Regions from separate parts of the Homo sapiens genome. Here regions 2, 3, 4 and 5 are each linked to region 1. Evidence: promoter capture Hi-C in 16 types of primary human blood cells and fetal thymus (Javierre and others, 2016). All regions are on one chromosome and are shown on one strand. Each heading gives the region's core, a stretch centred on a gene start or on the middle of the fragment in contact. The rest is flanking DNA. Distances are from core to core; before and after follow the strand shown. Region 1 holds the start of PPP1R17 (protein phosphatase 1 regulatory subunit 17). Region 2 has its middle 72 kb from the start of LSM5. Region 3 has its middle 140 kb from the start of PDE1C. Region 4 has its middle 180 kb from the start of PDE1C. Region 5 overlaps LOC107986781 (a long non-coding RNA gene).

What was found. The method cuts DNA at HindIII sites, captures the fragments that hold promoters and counts their contacts. A CHiCAGO score of 5 or more calls a contact.
Region 2: a contact is called between a fragment that was not itself captured here and the fragment with the promoter of PPP1R17 in region 1, in 1 of 17 cell types (neutrophils). The highest score is 5.1, in neutrophils.
Region 3: a fragment that was not itself captured here is called in contact with the fragment with the promoter of PPP1R17 in region 1 in 1 of 17 cell types (endothelial precursors); the score reaches 5.8 in endothelial precursors.
Region 4: a contact is called between a fragment that was not itself captured here and the fragment with the promoter of PPP1R17 in region 1, in 1 of 17 cell types (neutrophils). The highest score is 5.2, in neutrophils.
Region 5: a contact is called between a fragment that was not itself captured here and the fragment with the promoter of PPP1R17 in region 1, in 1 of 17 cell types (endothelial precursors). The highest score is 5.5, in endothelial precursors.

The regions. Positions count from the first base shown.
Region 1 is chr7:31,685,249-31,689,063 of GRCh38, reverse strand. It overlaps PPP1R17 (protein phosphatase 1 regulatory subunit 17), which reads right to left and starts at 1,849. Exons shown (of 5, transcript NM_006658.5): 1 at 1,758-1,849. It also overlaps a transcript of PDE1C not described here. The HindIII fragment of the contact is 9,056 bases long and covers 1-3,815 here.
Region 2 is chr7:32,416,821-32,420,398 of GRCh38, reverse strand. It overlaps a transcript of PDE1C not described here. Among named protein-coding and RNA genes, the nearest start is that of LSM5, 72 kb to the left of the region's middle. The HindIII fragment of the contact is 863 bases long and covers 1,185-2,047 here.
Region 3 is chr7:32,207,331-32,211,260 of GRCh38, reverse strand. It overlaps a transcript of PDE1C not described here. Among named protein-coding and RNA genes, the nearest start is that of PDE1C, 140 kb to the right of the region's middle. The HindIII fragment of the contact is 1,180 bases long and covers 1,152-2,331 here.
Region 4 is chr7:32,250,769-32,254,608 of GRCh38, reverse strand. It overlaps a transcript of PDE1C not described here. Among named protein-coding and RNA genes, the nearest start is that of PDE1C, 180 kb to the right of the region's middle. The HindIII fragment of the contact is 4,848 bases long and covers 1-3,799 here.
Region 5 is chr7:31,166,693-31,170,792 of GRCh38, reverse strand. The region is part of intron 2 of LOC107986781 (a long non-coding RNA gene); the gene reads right to left. Among named protein-coding and RNA genes, the nearest start is that of ADCYAP1R1, 120 kb to the right of the region's middle. The HindIII fragment of the contact is 1,255 bases long and covers 879-2,133 here.

The DNA of each region.
Region 1 (3,815 bases), core at 600-3,099:
GAGCACCAGCAGTCACATCCATTATTTCTGCAGCAAAACTATGAATATTCACACTAAGTGACATAAAGACAAACCACAAAAAATTCACATTCTTTCAGGTCAGGCTTTGCTACCAAATGAGTTTGTGTTGAACTTAACAACAAACCTTTTGGTTTTCAAAATGTTTCAGATTTCTTAATTAGAGAATGAAAGAGTATTGATCGAATTACTCTTCTGGTTGTGGTTGTTTGACAGAATGTAGGTATTCAGTGTAGTATGCAAGAGACCAAGAGATATGATTTCAGGGTTTGAGAAAGGATTTCAGGATTTCAGATTTTAAACTCTTGTAACTTCCTCTTACTAATCCTTACCTTCCTTTTCACAAGGGACAAAACCTTTCTTTTTACAGAGAGATACTTGTAAATGCAAATACCACTAAGAGCAGCAATATGTAAATTGATGTCACAATACACAGGGATTGTTAATGACAAAGGTCACCTTCTCTTTTGAGAACAGGAACTGAAAGGGGGAAGGAACTGGGTGCCAGAAAAGGGACCCCACTATATTGCAGAAAGGCAGGCACACCAGCGGAGCTGAAACACATTAGTTGGTTCAGTGTGTGGTCAGAAGCTGGTCTGGATTTTTTGTCTTTTCTCTTATCATTGAGCGGTTTTCTCAGTTGGATGTGAGAATATGCGGTTTAAATTATGGGAAGAAAATTCCTCTCAACTTTAAGATTGGATGCTGTGAGTCAATATAAGGTAGAAGCCAACGTTTGGCTGCTTGTACCACTCTCTAGCTGGGTGAACTTGGGACAGTTATCTGTTCTCTCAAAAATTTAGTTTTCAAATCTGTTAAATGGGGGAAGATAGTGGCTCTTCTCCAGGGTTGTTGAGAGTATTACCCATAGAATGTGCATGGAGTCCCGAGCCCAGGTCCTACACACTGATATTTTCGTGAGTGTGAGGGACCTTCTTGGATCTTTCAGTCCTCCATTTGTGATTATATGTCTATCTAAATTGATCTATCAGAATTATCTCTTTATCCCATCTCTGGCCTTCTCTGAAGCTGGTAATGAGATGAGAATAGTTCAAGACAAAAACCAACCCATTTCTAAATCTTGGGAACATAATAGAACTGATTCTCAGAAGCGAGTTGACACTTAGCTTACCATACGGTATTCTGAAGAATATCCCCCAAAGTAATCAGGTCTTGATTTACTGGATGGAATAAAAGGGTAGAAGGTTGTATCCACAGCCTATGTGGTATCTCGTTAATGCACCCTCTGGCTATGTAAAATACATATTCATTGTCAAACCTCTTTTTAACCAGAGGATTGAATTCAGGTCAAAAAGTACCGTCTTTTAAAATCAGATTTGTTCATTTAGAAAACCTAAATTGGCAGTATTCCTGGAGGAGAGACTGACTTAAAGTAGGGCATGGAGAATGTGTTTTGAGAAGCATACTTTCTGTACTTTCCCCAGCCTTGGAAGATAAACCTCTCTATCCTGTGTGAATATGCAGATACACCAACTTCATCTTGAAACTTTGCAAATGAGTTTGTGAGGGTTCAGTCTTTTACAGAACTCCATTCCCTCCCTTGGAAGAATGACTTGAAAGTGGTAACTTTTTCTGCTGTCCACTCGGCCCCAGCTTAGCCTTGCTCCATAAAGCACAACCCCGTGCCACCAGCTACAGCCTTCTTTGTCCCAGTAACTGACTGGAAACTTGCTTTTCTCACCACAAAAGTTCTTGGAGTAAAAATCTGAAGCACTTACCAATCAGCGCAGATGCAGGGAAGCGAAGGCGAGAGACAGGGAGGGCGTGTGTGCTCACCGAGGCTGGGCCTGGCTCCTCTGCGGCAGTGGCTGCTGCTGGCCGGCTCCAGCTCCTCTTATCTAGGGACCAGCTGCTGCTGTTGCCATGGGGATGCTCTGTTTCACAGGCACCAGGGCAAGGGGGATGGAGAAGGAAAGAGGACTAACATCTCCATCGCTGCTCTCCACGGCAATCATTGTACATTACAAAAGTACAGTATAGAGTCGTGCTTTGAGTTTCCGGTGTGCACACCAGAGAAATTCAGACAAACCAGCTACATCATTGAATTCCCATGCGATAGATTTTTTTTGGCCTGATTTTGTAAATATGGAAACTGAGGCACAAGAAGTTAAGTGATATGCCCAAGAGAGGCCACAGCTAATTTCGACTCTCAAAGCTATTTAAGTTTAAATCCAGAGTACTTTCAATCACTATTGCTGCTTCTCAAAGTACTATCATGAGGAGGAAGAGAAGGGTAGCTACTGCTAACATTTATGTAAGGCTACCAAAATGCCAGACACTCTTCTAGAGACTTCACACATATCTACTTACTTAACCCTCAGGCCAACCTTGTGAGATGAGCTACAGTCATCATCCCATTTTATTGATGAGGAAGCTGGGGCTCAAGAGTTACCAAATCATCTGACCAAGGTCTCCCCACATGGTGAAGCTAGGGTTTGAATGGGGTAATGAAATGCTAGGGTCCACGCTTGTAACCACTTTGCAATACCTCTCAGCAAAGAGAGCATTTCAAACAGCACATAGCAAAGAAAGCAGCCCCCAACTCTATAGGTTATAGTGTGCAGGCCAGAAAAAATTTCCTCCTTCAAAGGAACAAAGCCAAATGTACCAATATTAGGAATACGTAGGCACTCAAGAGTGGATGTTTAAGCAAGGTGGGAGAGGCGGGAGACATGCTGTCTTTTGGAGAGGAAGGTTCTATGTTTTGGGTCTGCTCACTGGAGGAGAGCCCACTGGGGTTTGGAGGAGCAGCAGTTTTGACTCCAAAGCAGGAAGGCCAGTCTGGGAGATCAGGTAGGTATCAGGACCCACTAGAAGGGCTCCAGACCCCCTGATAGCAGCCAATGGACCACCCAGTGATGCCCAAGAAATATGTTCTCACAGAAGATACGTGAGCACCATCCACACATCCATATTTTTTCCAGTCTTACCTGAGGTTCCCTGCAGAGCAGGTCCCTGGCAACCCCTTGGTTTCAACTGCCTGCTTGCCACTGGCAATGTGTTTGTTGGTGCCTCCCTCCCACTTGCCAGGATCCCAAATAACAGGGCTAGAACCATAGTAAACTCACCAAGAGGTTGACTCCTAGGGTTAGACTTTTGCCATGGTAACAGATAAGCAGAGAATGGACTTCTTTGCCTGTTCCATTTTGTGTTGATCCTTATTGGGACCTCCTGGGAAGAGATGAGGGTTGCTGAAAGGTGATGCTCTTGTCTAGGAAGGGAAGGCCCTAGATGTTGAGGGACAGGGCCTAGAAGCAGGTCTGTGTTCAAAACTGCCTGCTTTATCTTCTTCATTTTTTAAATTTTATTTTATTTTCAGTGCTGGGACACATGTGCAGGACGTGCAGGTTTGTTACATAGGTAAACGTGTGCCATGGTGGTTTGCTGGACCTATCAACCCATCACCTAGGCATTAAACCCTGCCTTACTTTATCTTCTTAACAACAGCCTTGTTGGCCAATGAGTTAGCAGCATCTTCAGTCCACACTTGAGTGGAAAAGATATACTTTCCTTCTGAAATCCTTGAATTCTTCTTTTGAATTAAACTGTTTTGAGGTAATAGATCTACATGTCGTTGTGAGGGATAATACAGGGAGATCTCCTATACGTAAGCAGTTATATCCAATGGTAACATCTTATGAAACTATCCTACAATATCAAAACCAGTATGTTGATATTTACATGAATATATACAGAACATTTCTGTCACCACAAGCCTCCCTTATCTTGCCGTTATATAGCCATGCCCCCCTCCGTTCCTTCCTAACCTCCTGCTC
Region 2 (3,578 bases), core at 367-2,866, 730 kb before region 1:
GTGTGTATATATATATATACACATATATATACACATATATATATACACATATATATACACATATATATATACACATATATATACACATGTATATATATACACATATATATACACATGTATATATATACACATATATATACACATGTATATATATACACATATATATACATATATATGTATATATACATATATATGTATATATATACACATATATATGTGTATATATATACACATATATATGTGTGTGTGTGTGTGTGTGTGTGTGTGTGTGTGTATATATATATATATATATATATATATATATATGCCACCACACCTGGCTATTTTTGTATTTTTAGTAGAGACAGGGTTTTGACATGTTAGCCAGGCTGGTCTTGAACTCCTGACCTCAGGTGATCTGCCCACCTCCACCTCCCAAACTGCTGGGATTACAGGTGTGAGCCACCATGCCCAGCCTATTACCCCATTTTTACAAATAAAGAAACTGAGGTTCAGAGTAGTGCCAGGACTTGCTCTGGTCACACAGCGGACAGGATGAGTTAGGATTAGGAACCAGATCCTGGCCTCTGTGTGTGCATCTTACATCTCCGCACTGGTGGTGTCTAAGCTGTCATGGTGGAGCACAAGCACCAAGAGCGCAAGAGGCATGCTCTTTTGCATCTATGTTAGCAGCAAAGCCCTGGGTTTTTCCTTCTCAGCCAAGGAAAAATGTGGCCAAGTTGCAAAATATTGTCATTTCCCAGAAGGAGGGAGCCGAAGCCCAGGGCTAGGCAGCCACTGCCAGGAAGGTTGGGAACATTCTTTAGTCTAGAAGTAGCAGGAGCCTGCCGTGCCCTCCACTCACTGCCAGAACAGTAACTAATTTCAGGTTTATTCTCAGATGACTGGATTTTTGTGAAGCTACTAATGAGGTCACCCCATACCCCAAGGGCTCACTCTCCTGAGGGAGCTGAAGTTAACCTCCAAAGGAGACTCTCCGGGTAGGGAGGGAGTAGTTAGAGGGGCTGCTTTTTTGCTCTCTCTCTTTCTCTCTGTTGTTCTCTATACCTACTATTTTTTGAGTACTCTTTTTAGCAAGTTCTGTCTTATAAATATTCTGGAGGATACTAGGAAATTGTTAACTTGAACAATATATGAATTAAAGTAGAAGTCTAAATTCAGTAACAGGCTCTTTCTTCCAAGCTTTGTTCCCCTGTATTTTCTTCTCCCCAGCTTGTAGATTTCAAACTTGCCCATCTCAGATATCACCTCCACTTTAAACTCCTTGAACCTGAGTAAAGATATTTAAAAAATATTTTAACCAATTATTAATTTTAGTTTGTTAATTAAACTAACAGGTTGCCATTTTTTCCTCTGCCAGTCAGAGTACTGGGCTCCCTTACTGATGTCAGAGATCTTCCTAAGAGACCTCAGTAAAACTGAAGACAAAATGGGAAAAAAGAAGCCATTAGATCAGTACACACATAACAGATTCATTTATTCTTCTTGGTATCTGAGTGGGTTTTGCTTGCAGCTTAAATGCTCCAGGAGTCGGGTGGACCTCATTTACATGCTGCTTTGAAGATTACATGCAGGGCAGTTTGGAAAAAGTTTTTCATGCCCTGTCTGGCTGCTCTTTGGGACTTTAATTTTTAATTTTTTGTTTGTTTGTTTGTTTGGGACTTTATTACTTCCTGGATTTTGACACCCTAATAACTCAGTACCTTCTTCTGGTCCAAGAGACAAAAAATGTTACAAATATGAGGGCATCCCTTCAAAAATAAAGCCTCTGTTCTGAAGGAAAAAGTGAATCTTAATCTGGAAATGTGTGCTGCCGTATCTTCCCATATCTGATTATTGTCACGCAAGGATGCTATTTGGAAAGTGACTTTTTTTAATGATTGAAAAAGTGCAAATAAAACAATCATATCATTATATTTCATAGGAACAATAGACGTTAACATTTATTGAGCACTTACCCTGTGCCAGGCATACTTCATGCACCAGCATTAAACTAAGAGGTAAGTGCCATTGTTATCTCCTTTTCTTAGATGAGGACAATGAAGCTTGGGGAATTATCTGAGGTTGCACATCTAGTGAGTACGGGGGTCTTACTTGAACCCAGGTCTTAAGCCTTGTGCTGAACTGCCTGAGACATCAGTAGCAGCTTGAGGCTGATAAAAAAATAATTGGCCAACTTGCTACTGCCATGGAAAGAAATAGTATGTGGGGAAGACCATAGTACTGAGGAAGTTTCCAGAAGTAAGGCTGGGCATGATGGTTCACATCTGTAGTCCCAGCACTTTGGGAGGCTGAGGCTGGAGGATCACTTGAGCCCAGGAGTTTGAAGCTGCAGTGAGCTCTAAATACCACTGCATTTTAGCCTAGGTCACAGTGTGAGATTCTGTCTCAAAACCAAACCAAAACAAAACAAAAACAAACAAACAAAAACACAAGTTTCCAGAAGTACATTTTATAATATTTTAATGTTGCAGTCTAGATATAATTGGCAAATAAATTGATAGGTCAACAAGAGATAGCATTCAAATTACTACGTTGAGTCACATGATTTCTGTTTGGTTAAAGTTGAAATACAAGTAAAATAATAGAATTACAATATCAAGAAAAACTTGAGATAAATGAAGAAAGCGCCTAAAAGATCATCATCTTAATACAACAGATACTTTGATGCTTGCTTATAACCCTCTCCTTTTTTATGTGCACAGTATGATTTTTTTTTTTTTTTTTTACTAAATTGGGATTATAGTACCAAAAAAAAAATAGAACTTTTCCCTGGGAGTTAATATTGCTTATAGTTACACGGGCAGGCTCTGCAGTGAGAGAGATGGAGTTAGAATCTGGGCTCTGCCCATGATTAATGGGGCAAGTTACTCGAACCCTGTGAACTTCAGATTCCTCATCTGTAAAATGGGGATGCAAAAAATTCCATTTATTGAGTTGTTTGTGAGTTTAAGGGTTTAATGCAAAGCTCTCAGCATGGTGCTGGGCACAGAGTCAGTGCTCAACAGGTGTTTTTATTATTAGACATGTGAGATTTTATTAGCAGTAGTGGGATGTTTTTAGTAGGGCTTCCTTACCACTAAGGCTAAGCAGTTATCACTGGTTAAAAAAAAAAAAAAAGTCATCACTTTCTAAAAGAAATCAGTTACAACTGGGATTCACTCATGCTTTGTACCAGCTTTTCTGGGTGCCCTGAGCACCCAGCTTTTTCTTGGTTTGGGGCCTGTGCCACAGAACTGACTATGCTCCCTGGGACCGCTCAGCTCGTGGTAAATGCTTCTCGCAGCTTTGGTCCTTTTGAGCACACAGGCTAGATTAGTCTGTTCTGAGGGAGGTGGCAGCATTTAAAAGCATTGTTGTTCTCCTTAGTCTGTGCTATGTGTCGGCTGGGAGAGCCAGGCATGGGGTGGGTGTTTATGGCTAGCTCCCATATGTGGCGGTACTCTGGGCCTCTGTAGACCCACTGGCGAGTTGCCCCTCGATCTCTCCCAAGGTCACAGCTTTTTACTGTTGGCAATTTCTCCTCATACTGAGATGATACCCGTTCCTCTGCACTCATTTCCCCATAGACCTGTTCT
Region 3 (3,930 bases), core at 492-2,991, 520 kb before region 1:
GTATTTGGTGCAGAGTGTAGTAATTATTTAATTTCTTTCTTTTTATTTTTTGAGATAGAGTTTCGCTTTTGTCTCCCAGGCAGGAGTGTAGTGGCACAATCTCGACTCACTGCAACTTCCACCTCCCAGGTTCAATTGATTCTCCTGCCTCAGCCTCCCGAGTAGCTGGGATTACAGGCGCCCACCACCACGCCCGGCTAATTTTTCGTATTTTTAGTAGAGATGGGGTTTCACCATCTTGGGCAGGCTGGTCTCCTGACCTCGTGACCCGACCGCCTCGACCTCCCAAAGTGCCGGACTACAGGCGTGAGCCACCCGCGCCAGGCCCATTTCTTTCTTTTTTTGAAATGCTGCGGTGTGACAGACGATGGGAGCTGGATGAATTATTGCCTCCCCCTGCTGGTCATTTTTATATAACATCTTATATATAGTAATATATAGTAAGAGTGCAGATGATAAAGCAAAGCTAATACCCAGAAAAACAAAAGATACTAAGATGTAATTTATTAATTTTTAAAAATTGCCCAAATTAGTAATAGACAAATTGCCCAAATTAGTAATTGGCCTTATTAGTAATAGAGTGTAGATGGTGAGGCAAAGCTAATGCCAGAAAAACAAAATATACTGAGATGGAATCCATTAATTTTTAAAAAATTGCTCAAATGCAGTAAATTTTAAAATACTTACCTTTGTGAGAGGGTGGAATAAATTTTTCGACTTCTTTCATTCTTTGTAAAACGATATAATAAGTTTAGAAAGTAGTTACTGTATTGGTTTTGTCCTTTTGCTGCAACTTCTCATACATTCATGATGACGTTAGCAATCTCCTTTATTCTGTTGATGCATTGAATGCTTTTTTCTCAGCTAGAATGAACAGGTGTTTCTTGTTGATTGCTTTAGGCATTTATCCAAGTAGATCACAAATACCCATGTCTGTCTGCTATGTATACATACAACAACCAAGGTATAATGTTTATGGGCATGAAACATGGTATTTAAAATGAGTGAAACCTGTGTTTCCCCTTAACAACCAATCTCTTTTACCCAATACAATGGGTTCATAAGTTATAAGGGACATTAAATATGACTCTATCCAATGATAAGTTATATGGAGACTTTTCGTAGGAGGTAGCCTGCCCTGCTGAGAAGCTTTAGGGGTAAGGTTTCTAGGGCAGTTTTCTGAACAATTCTATTAATGAACTTCCCTGTTTGTTAGCATCTAAATTTAATATCTTTCTGAACATAAAGCCAGCTTTTTATTTATCTTCCGAAATTCCTGCCTCAGCTTTGCCCCTATGGATCCTAGGAAACCAGATTCATTTCGATGCTTGGGGTGCATTTGCATGTTGACAGACAGCACTGTTAGAGGACTCTTGGGGCCAAAGGACGTCCACTAGCTTGGAAGCTGGTGTGTGTGCCTCTTACTAAGTGGATGTAAGCCAATTAACTTCTTTAGGCCTACTAAACTGGATGTTGTTGAGATCCTCTCTAGCTTCATCCAAATATTCTAATCAAAATGATTGAGACATTTGACTTCATTTAGGTGTTGAGGGCAGCCTTGGAAATACAGACACGGAGGGAGTAAAGTTGCTTTTATTCACTTACAAAGACTCTTAAATACAGCCCGATGTCAAAGCATCCAGGGGATTGGCTGTATTGGGGCATATTTGGTGGACACATTGCTTTATTTATTTAAATTGCATCCTCTTTTTTTTTTCTAGTTGCAAATGAAGCTGGAGACAAGAATGCCAGACCACTGGCCCGCTTCTCTCGTGAGTAAATCTTGTTTCACTCCTTTCCTGGTCTCCATCAGAAAATGTTCTCCAGAGATCTTTCCCCCATGCGGTATAGCTCTTCAATTCTGTCAGGTGTTAATAAAATAGTAATGCAGGAAATATCATCTGGTTAACATCCCACTTGAGCCCAGGCTGGTGAGCTACTCATTGCTACTGCCTTTTCAATCCTTAGAACTGTGGTTTCCAAATTGTGCTCTAAGCCTTTGCTATTCCAAGTATGGTCCTCAGAGCAGCAGAATCGACATCACCTGGGGGCTTTTTAGAACCATGAAGCCTCAGTCCCCCGACCACCCCTTCAGACCTATTGAGTCAGAATTTGTATTTTAACACATTTACAGGGGATGCCTGTTCACATTAGAGTTTGAGAAGTGCTGTGCTAGGACTATCCTTTCAATCTTTCAATGAATGTTTTATGAAGATAAAGTGAGGAGAGGTACGTGAAATGCTTGTAGCTATGAAGGCATCATCACCATTCAAAGTGGACTTATGGACTAACTCCACTGGCTTTTCCTCAGTTTGGTGACACTTTGAAGCTTAGATGGATTGAATGGGTTTCCTTAGGCATTGGGGATATTCCTAGGGCTGTGGTTAGGCCATGGGGCTTCCCTTGACTCCTTTGTCTCCAGGTCTTGATCCCTATGAGTAGGAGTCTAAAGCCTCTCAATGGTTTCTGTACCAGTGTGATCAGCAAATTATCCCGCAAGTTAATGCACTTCCTGGAACGAAAACCTGGATTCCAAAGAAGGGGGGGGAAAATACTAGAGACGGATGAGGGTGGAGTGGAGACGCTCCCCAAACCCACTATGCACCAGGTGGAGAAATCGTACAACTGTAAATAGAAACGGATTTATCACTGCCTCACTGGCTTTCACTAAAAGTAATTTCACTCACACTATCTGGGCCTCTGTCTTCGCACCTGGAAAATGTTCAAAATTGGACATTGTTACATTAATTTTTTTTTTTTTGCCTTCCTAAAAGTCACCTCATCGTTCCCTCTCTAGTATTGACTACAAAAAGACTTAGTAGCTGACGTGCCATCTGACTTTTTTCCAGGTCAGTCAAAAATGTTGCTGTCTTTTGAAATTGTGGCCAGGGAGGAACTCTATAAATCCCTAGTCACTGCATTCCTCATGCAGGGTTGACTAGGTCTGAGTGTGGACAGTGCCATAGTAAATCTTATTACATAAAGCTGAAAGTATAATTTCTCTATTTACAGGCTTCTTCTAAACTCTGCCTCCCAGCTCTTTTTGGAAGGCTTTGAAACGTTGGGATTGATTTCCTAGAAATGATTTTTATAGAACTGTAATAATGTACGATAATGAAAGAGCATGAAGTGCTCATATTTTAGAAATTGTGTAATAAAACACTCGCTTCTCATGAGCCCCATTCCTCACTGCCCTCCTACCTGGAATCATTATTTGCAAAATAGATATTTCATCCCACAGCTCAACGAGGTTGAAGAATATGCTTTTATCCCATTTTTTTCTTCATCTCCTGAGCAGTTGTCAGGCAAATAAATAAGCATGAATCGTGACCCAACCACGCTGTGAGGGCTGTGCTGGGTGCCCCTTCCCCCATGGGAGTCCCAGAGGCTCACTACAAGACAGACGAAGGTTGGGGGGAGGGCGGTCCTTGCATGAGAGTTGAGGCAATTTGTCCCTTCACAGAGAAAGGAAGGTAACTTCTTGTGTGAACTTCTCAACTGTATGACTGGGTTGAAAGGATGATGTGTCTTCAAAGCTTATTATCTTGAGACAGGTGAGGACATGATGAACACGTATCTGTGTAGGAAAAAGTAATTAGTGGCAAACCAGTTAGGTTGGACTGATACAGGGAAAAAAAAGGAGAACGAAAAAGCTCCTGAGTTAATTGCCATACTCCGGAAAAAGTCAGATGGCACGTGAGCTACTAAGTCCTTTTGTAGTCTAGAGAGGGAAAGATTAGATGACTTTTAGGAAGGCAAAAAAATTATTTTTAATGTAGCAATGTCCGATTGATGCTTACTTCACTTTACCACCTTGAAACTGACCTTCATTGTGTGGTGTGAATGAAGAGTTCAGTTTGGGAAGATTGGGAGGATTCGGATGATAAGTTTTTTTTTTTTTTTTTGAGACTGGAAGATGAAGTACTGCAA
Region 4 (3,840 bases), core at 126-2,625, 570 kb before region 1:
AGTAGAGAAAATGTTATAATCTCTTGCTCTTCATTATCTACCTAGAAAACTGCATTTATTTATTGCTTTTGGAATATGATGACATCAGTGAAGGAAGATATCGGGCTTTCTGGCTACATTTTAAAGTTATGGAGGAAAAGGGAGAGGGTTGTTTTCCTGCTCTCTCAGGAGGTCTGATAGAGGAGAGTTGTGCTTTTTCCACCAGGGCCAACACACAAAGTTCTGTGCCTTCTCATGAATGTGCAGGGGACTTGTTTCCTGGACCTGTCAGTTCCAGTGAGGTCATAGTAGCAAGTCAAATGTCACTGGCCTTGGTCCTCACCTGCATAACATAGGACCTCCAGCTCCCTCAGAGTCTCATCCTGTTGTTTCTAGAGGTATCCATGGAGGAGTGTCATATGGACAGAACTACTCTTTTGTTCTCTTTCACCTGCAACAATGCGCCAACAATAACCTGTCCTCAAATGTACTCTTGGAGTCTAGCCCAGTCCAGATCCTCTGATACGCCCCGTATCGCCTCATTTCATTGTTTCAGTGGTGCATGAGACCCTTTGGGATTCACTGTCCCTGTCCTGCCTTCTTCCATTTCCCTCATTCCCATGCATTTTCTCAGTAGTGAGCTGCCTACGTTTTCCAAATGCGTCATGCTGATCCCTCTCCCTAGGATGGTGTTCTCAGGCTTATCTCCTAGGAAAATCCCTTTTCCTATTTTAAAAGTGAATCAGTCACTGATCTCTGATCACAGTCATTGATCTCTGATCAAATTCTCTGATCTCTGTCCTCTGACCTTAGAGTGGACACTCCCTTTCCTGGGCTCTGCTTATACGTGTGTGTCTGCGTATTGTGTTTGTTGTGCAGCAGCGCCCTTTATTGTTTATACATCATCTCCCCATGTCTGTAACCTCCATATCTAGCTCAATGCCTGGCACATTGCTTATGCCACAGAAATATTCATTTGAATTAGACTGAAATCATCTTGGCTTTCCCTGAATCCTCTCTTTCCCCAGCTGCATAAACTCAATTGTCTCCTAAAAGTAATCAGGACCCTTTGGAAATCCATCCATTTAAGAGAGATGAGAGAGCAGTGAAAAGAACAGGCTATTATAAGCAGATTCTCTTTCTACCTCTGGGGATTCATTCATTGTGAGACATTTGCTTGAAGAATGGCAGCTGTATTCTCTGGAAGGCGCGTAAGGCTGTTGGAGCATTGTGGGGTTTCGGTAAAGGCCAGTACAGCTGTGAATGGCATAGAAAGGCTATTTACAGAAGCAACAAAAAAGATCTTGTTATAAGGTCACCAATAAGGTGGTGTTTAATAAGGACTGCGTTTAAATAAGGCTTCAGGGAGTCTGGATTCACTGTTTTTGGAAATGTGAATTCTACTTCTGGGGATGACCTTAAATTTCCACTTTATAATAGATGTTGATGCCTACTTCATAGGTTGTCACGAGTATTAAATATTGTTCTTTCTAAGATACATGATCTCTCACTAAGACATCTCCAATAGCCCCAATTGCCCCTCCCACCCCAAATCCATTCTCCATTCAGCAGCCAGAATGATCTTTGAAAAACACAACTCTGAATTTGCTACACCTATGCTTAGAACCCTTTGATGGCTTCCTGTCCACTGTGCTACTCAAAGTATGGTCTCAAGAGCTGGTGTATGAGCTGTTTGTTATGGTTAGGCCATGAGAAGGGACACAAATAGAGGTCAAGCATTTAAAAACTTTTACAGTAACTGGTAGAATAATTTTATATGTGTTAAAACTAGTGGTAAAACATTTGGGCTCATATTTTGTATGTCTTTTAATTTCAATTTTCTAGTAACTCATTTTTATTGTATTTCACAAAAGTGTCAGTCCTTGACACGTTGCAAATACATAGTTTGAGCAGCACTGGGCTGCGAGGCCTGAGGACTCTGGCCCTGCCTTCCTGGATTGATTTTTTAGTTCTCTCCCACCCTCCTCTGTGCTGCAGCCACAGTAGCCTCCTCAAACATTCATCCTCCTTCCATGTGGACCTGTGCAAATGCTGTTCCCTCTGCCTGAATGCCTCCTCCTTGCCTGCCCTTGCTGTGGATTTAATTCTTGCTTGTCATTCAGGTCTCAGCTCACAGTTAGTTTCTCAAAAAAGTATCCCTTTCCCCCCAGACTAGACAGCTATATGCTCTCCTTGCACCTGGTTCTTCTCCTTCATAATATTTTACAAAATCATCAACAAATAATTAATTGTATGATTTGTTGTTAAAGCCCATCTTCCTACTAGAATATATGTTCCATGAGGGAAGATATTGTGACTGCCTTGTGGTTTGTGCCTTATAGTCCCGGGATCTTGTGCAGTGCTGGGCACAGAGCAGATGGTCAGGAAGTAGTTACTGAGTGAGCAAATGAAGACTGTTTTGGAAAATATGTTTGTGCATTGTTTATATACTTATATTAGGGAGGAGTTGACTAAAAGTAAGCAGGTCAGAGAGGAGGAGACATAAGTGATCTTGTAATATACAATTAGATTATTGGTCCCTGAATAATTGAAATTTGCATAAAATATTCATAACCACTAAGTATCCTGGCTCTATAGAGAGGTGCAAAATGGAACCCTCCCTGGAGATATTCAGGGTTGTCTATCAGTTGAGTCATCTTTACAACCACAGGGGGAGATCTGATTGATACTGTCAGACCAGATCTCACCTAAAAGGACCTCACTGTGGCTGGACCTGAGTGTGAGGAGGGGAATAGCAGGTGACACCCTGGGCTGATGGCCATGGCCAACCTTTGTCAGCAATCATAAGGAGTTTGGACTTAGCTTTAAAAGCAAGGGGGAGCTACAAAGGTTTAAGGGCAGACATGGTGGAAAATGGAGAATGGAGAAAGAGCAAAGGGTTATGAACATTTCAATGAGATGTTTATTATTCATGGATGATATTCAGTGTGTGTATTATTCTCCTCTGAGCCAGGCACTGTGCAGGTGCAGGGGTTGTGTGAGGGGGCAGGGTGGGGAGAGACAACTCTTGAGGCAGGAGAGCAGGTAGGAAATGGTGACAGCAATCCAGAGAAGATGCATGGTGGCTGGAACAGGGACTAGGATCATCCTGGAAGTGGTGGCTGGAAAGGCGCAGACAGGCTAGAGGCGGAATTGACAGGACTTGGTAATGGAATTGATTTGGAAGGCGAGGGAAAAGGAGTGAAGGATGACGAAGGTGCCTGGTCTGGAAAACCGGGTAGATGATGGTGCCCTTGCCTGAGTTGCAGCTCTAGGCCACTTATGCTATGTTTAGAGTGGGCCACCCCAGCTTCAAACGTGCAGGTCAAAGTAGGGTGGGAGAGGACATGACGGGCCTAGTCCTGGGCTGCCGGATTCAGGTCTAGGTCTGCCTGGACTGTGGACACCCCGGTGGCAGGTGAGCAAATGTGGGAGTGTATCCAGCTGGTAGAGGCTGGGGACAAAGGCCAGGGAACAGGGATAGTGTGACAGGGAATCTGTTGCCACAGTTTAAAGAAGTTAGCATTAGCCTTGTGTGTGTGTGCGCACGCGCGCTTGTGCTTGTGCACGCTCGCATGTGTGTGTTGATAATCCGTCATTTTCTTTATCTGCATCATGCTTCACTAGAGCTCCTGACTTAATCCGGCTTGACTTGTACAAATGTCGCCATCTGGCATTAGATCATGCGCCTTTTCAATCAAAAGAAGCAGAATGATTCCATTCAGAAATGCAAGCCCATGACAGGATGCCTTTGCGGTGTGTTACAGCCAAACCTGAACTTGTAATCAGGCTTTGAGGTATTTCCTTTTAGTAAAAAGCTTATTTGGGTTAACTATGAAACAGATTTCATGCAGGAAAAGG
Region 5 (4,100 bases), core at 257-2,756, 520 kb after region 1:
GCCCAACCCTGAGTTTACGCTCAGTTTTTGTTTAATCTATTAAGGCTTTAAATATCTGAATGTAGCCATGAGGTACCTCCATAGCCTTAAATGTCCCTTCTCAAAACCAATGTTCTCCTATTTCTTCAAAATTCCCACAGAACATAGTGCCCAGACTGTTCACCATCTAAGTGGTCCTTTGGTTGAGCACAATATTCCAGGGGCAGTCTGACAGGTTAGAGATGTATCATCAACCTTCTTCTGTTCACTCCATTCATTCACTCACTCAATAGCTCATTCAACAAAGAACACCTTATATGCTTATTCCCAGAAAATTCTAGGAGATTCCAAAGTGAGAATTATGACTTGTATACAGCTCAACACACTTGGCTGTTGACTAATGCTTGCATTTCCCTTCAGGAAGAAGTCACGATAATAGTTCTTTCTTTCTTTCTTTCTTTCTTTTTGAGACAAAGTCTCACTCTGTTGCCCAGGCTGAAGTGCAGTGGCACGATCTCGGCTCACTGCAACCTCTACCTCCCGGGTTCAAGCAATTCTCCTGCCTCAGCCTCCTGTGTAGCTGGGATTACAGGTGCCTGACACACCTGGCTAATTTTTGCATTTTTAGTAGAGACAGGGTTTCACCATGTTGGCCAGGCTGGTCTCAAACTCCTGACCTCAGGTGATCTGCCTGTCTCGGCTTCCCAAAGTGCTGGGATTACAGGCATGAGCCACCATGCCCGGCTCGTGCTAGTTCTTTCTAAATCCACCCTGACACTAATTTCAGTTCACATGGATCATCAAATCAGTTTTTGTTCCTCGCATTGGATGTTGAGCTTCTGTTAATGTTCCTGATTGACGTAATCTTTCTCCAAAATTAATATTTTTAAAAGAAAGCTTATTTTTTCTTTCTTTCACAGTTGTACATTTATTATGCCTCCTGGTACAGCTTCTAGAGATTGCTAATCTTTCTGTTTTTCCCTTCACACAATGGGCAACATACATCTCCTCCTCTTTCAACCTATGTAGTTGCAGAAGAATAAGTCAGGCTTTCCCAGAGGAACTCTACATTCAAATATCAATCACCAGGAACCACAGGGGAAGAGGAAATAAAAGAAATGAAAGAAGAAATGTTTTGCTAAGTAGAGATTTTTTTAAAGAAACTACTTCCATACATTTGCAGGCAAGTCAGCTACAGGAATGCCTAAAAGTTTGTTATCCTCCCAAGGAACAGCTGACAGGTTTAATTTTAACACAATCCTTGAAAGAGCTTAGGGAGTCCAGGATAAACGGTTGTGCTATAAATCTGTGATACAACAGGACAGGATGGGTGTGTGCCCCCTAATAAATATTGATACTGGTTCCCAGACTTTCATATAATGACTATTTTCAAAGGGAGAGTCTTTTACCTCAATGCTTAGACTGACAGGCAATGATGTGGAAGCTCTTTCATCAACAAAATGGGTGGAGAAACACTAGCATAATTAACTCCTGTAGCTGCTTTTTTTTTTTAGACTTGTGATCCCACAACTCACAATTCACTGATTCTCTCTCTGAAGTAACTTACATTTCCCAGGTGATCAGACAAGGTCTACCAACTTCAAGGTCAAACCACCAACCAGTGAGAGATTTGAAGTCAGGCTCCATCTGAGATTGTGGCTGGGGCAGAGGGAAGCACAGGGTTTAGCAAGTTTGACTCATTGCAGGGCCAATGAAGATCCAAAGGAGAAACAAGGTGTCCATGTGGAGACCCTGGAGAGACAAAAATTGCTGCCCCAGCAGCTGCCCTCTTCTGTCACCATGTGTAAACCCACACATGAAGGAAGCCACCAAGCATTCCAAGCACCTGGGGCTGTTCCTGCTTACATAATTTCATAGAGAACAAATGCAAAGCCAGGGAAACCTGGAGTACAGCCCCAGGGGACCTGAAGAGGAAAGCAAATGAGATTCAGGGGGTGTTTTCAACTCTTTTTCCCCCATGAAGGTTCTGACTGTGGAAGAAAGAAGAGGTTGGAATAAGTGAACAACTGGATTGGACTTTTAAGCTACATTTTACAATGCCAACATGATGACTACCAGCATAAGGCAGAGGGTGTCTAACGAGAACTGATAAGGAATTTTTGGCAATATACTCCTGAAGAGAGCAAGAAAGCTTTAAACTGTGCAAGAGAGAAAGTGCCCGCATGAAATGGTAAAAACAGAGTAGGATGGACAAATCAACATTAATACATAAAAAAAAACACACTTGGCTTCTTCAAAGAGCACATAAAAAAATCCTAAACTCTTACTATTTTTAGTAAATTATTATGTAAACAATCACTAGTATGAAACTCATGACTTGAATTCAGCAGGGGAACAGTGTACATTGTCCATTTCAAACGAATTATATATTTTTTAATAAGACCAAATGAGAATGCATAAAGAGAGGCTGCCAGCTAAAATCATTAATTCATTCATTCAATAAAGATTTACCACTTAACAACTCCATGTCACATTTTGTGCTCATTAAAATCTTATGTAGGCACAGCAGCTATGTAAGTAAATATTACTTTTTTTATTTTTTTTTAGACAGAGTCTCACTCTGTCGTCCAGGCTGGAGTACAGTGGTGTGATCTCAACTCTCAGCTCACTGCAACCTTCACCTCCCGGGTTCAAGTGATTCTCCTGCCTCAGCCTCCCGAGTAGGTGGGATTACAGGCACCCACCACCGCGTCCTGCTAATTTTTGTATTTTTAGTAGAGACGGGGTTTCACCATGTTGGCCAGGCTGGTCTCAAACTCCTGACCTCAAGTGATCTGCCTACCTCAGTCTCCCAAAGTGCTGGGATTACAGGCATGAGCCACTGCACCCAGCCTCAATATTACTTCTTGCTCTTATAAAGCTTATTAGCTAGTGAGTACCTCACCATACATGTCTTTAAAAAAGAGATACAACTGAAGTCAAAGAGGGGAAAAAGGTTCTAATAAAGATCATGTGGAGAAAAGACCCCAATGGACAGAGTCAAAGTGAGAAAGCTCGCAGGTCAGCTAAGCAAGTGTTCAGTGCAACCCAATGCAATGATTAGAAGAATCCTAAAAAATCCTACAAAATAGGAATGATAATTTCCATTCACAGAGTTGTTGCAAGAAATCAATGAGGATATACATGTCAAGTACATGGGACATAGTAAGTACCTAACAAATAGTGATTTTTAAAGAATTTTAAAACTTTATACTTTCTGTCTTATATTTCTGAATTATTTGCATTTTTACAATAAATATATAGTATAATGATAATCAGGAAAAAAGGAGGGAAAGGAAACCTGCCAAAATATAAGGAAGTATGTAAATTAATCTTCAATAAAGTTGATTTCTTTTTTAAATACATGGAAGTACAGTAGTCCCCCCTTATCCACAGTTTGGCTTTCCTCTATTTCAGTTTCCTATGGTACAGTACAGTACAGTAAGATATTTTGAAAGAGAGACCACAGTCACATAACTTTTATTACAGTATATTGCTAAAATTGTTCTATTTTATTATTTTGTTAATCTCTTACTTTGCTTAATTTATAAATTAAATGTTATCATAGATATGTGTGCAAGGAAAGAAACATAGTATATATAGGGTTCAGTACAATCCGCAGATTCAGGAATCCACTGGGAGCCTTGGAATTTACCCCCCACAGATAAGGGGAACTACTATATTGAGGTGAAATGCTGATCTCAAAAACTAGGACAGGATTATCCAAACCCAACTTCCTTCTCCCAGAGCTCATGTTACGGAAACAGTCAGGACCCAAGCACTCACCCAATCAGTACCATTACTTGAGGTGGAGCCCCATGTGTGCTCCACCCCAGCATAGGTGCCTTCCACAAAAAGAACCTGCCAGTGTCAGAAAGTGAGAAGGGAAATATCAGGCCTTCCGCAGAAGGGGCAAAGCATGGGGCTTCTGGAAGGTCAAGCTGCAGGGAGACCTTGAGTAGGGAATGTCCTCTTTCCTAAAACTCACAGCACCGGGTGATAGGGGGATGCTGTGCCACGTACAGAGGGATGCAGCTTCAGGAAACAGCTCTTTAACTCATCCAGTACAGACTGGTCCCTGTGAGTCATTGAGACCTTCAGACATTTTATATATTCTGTAC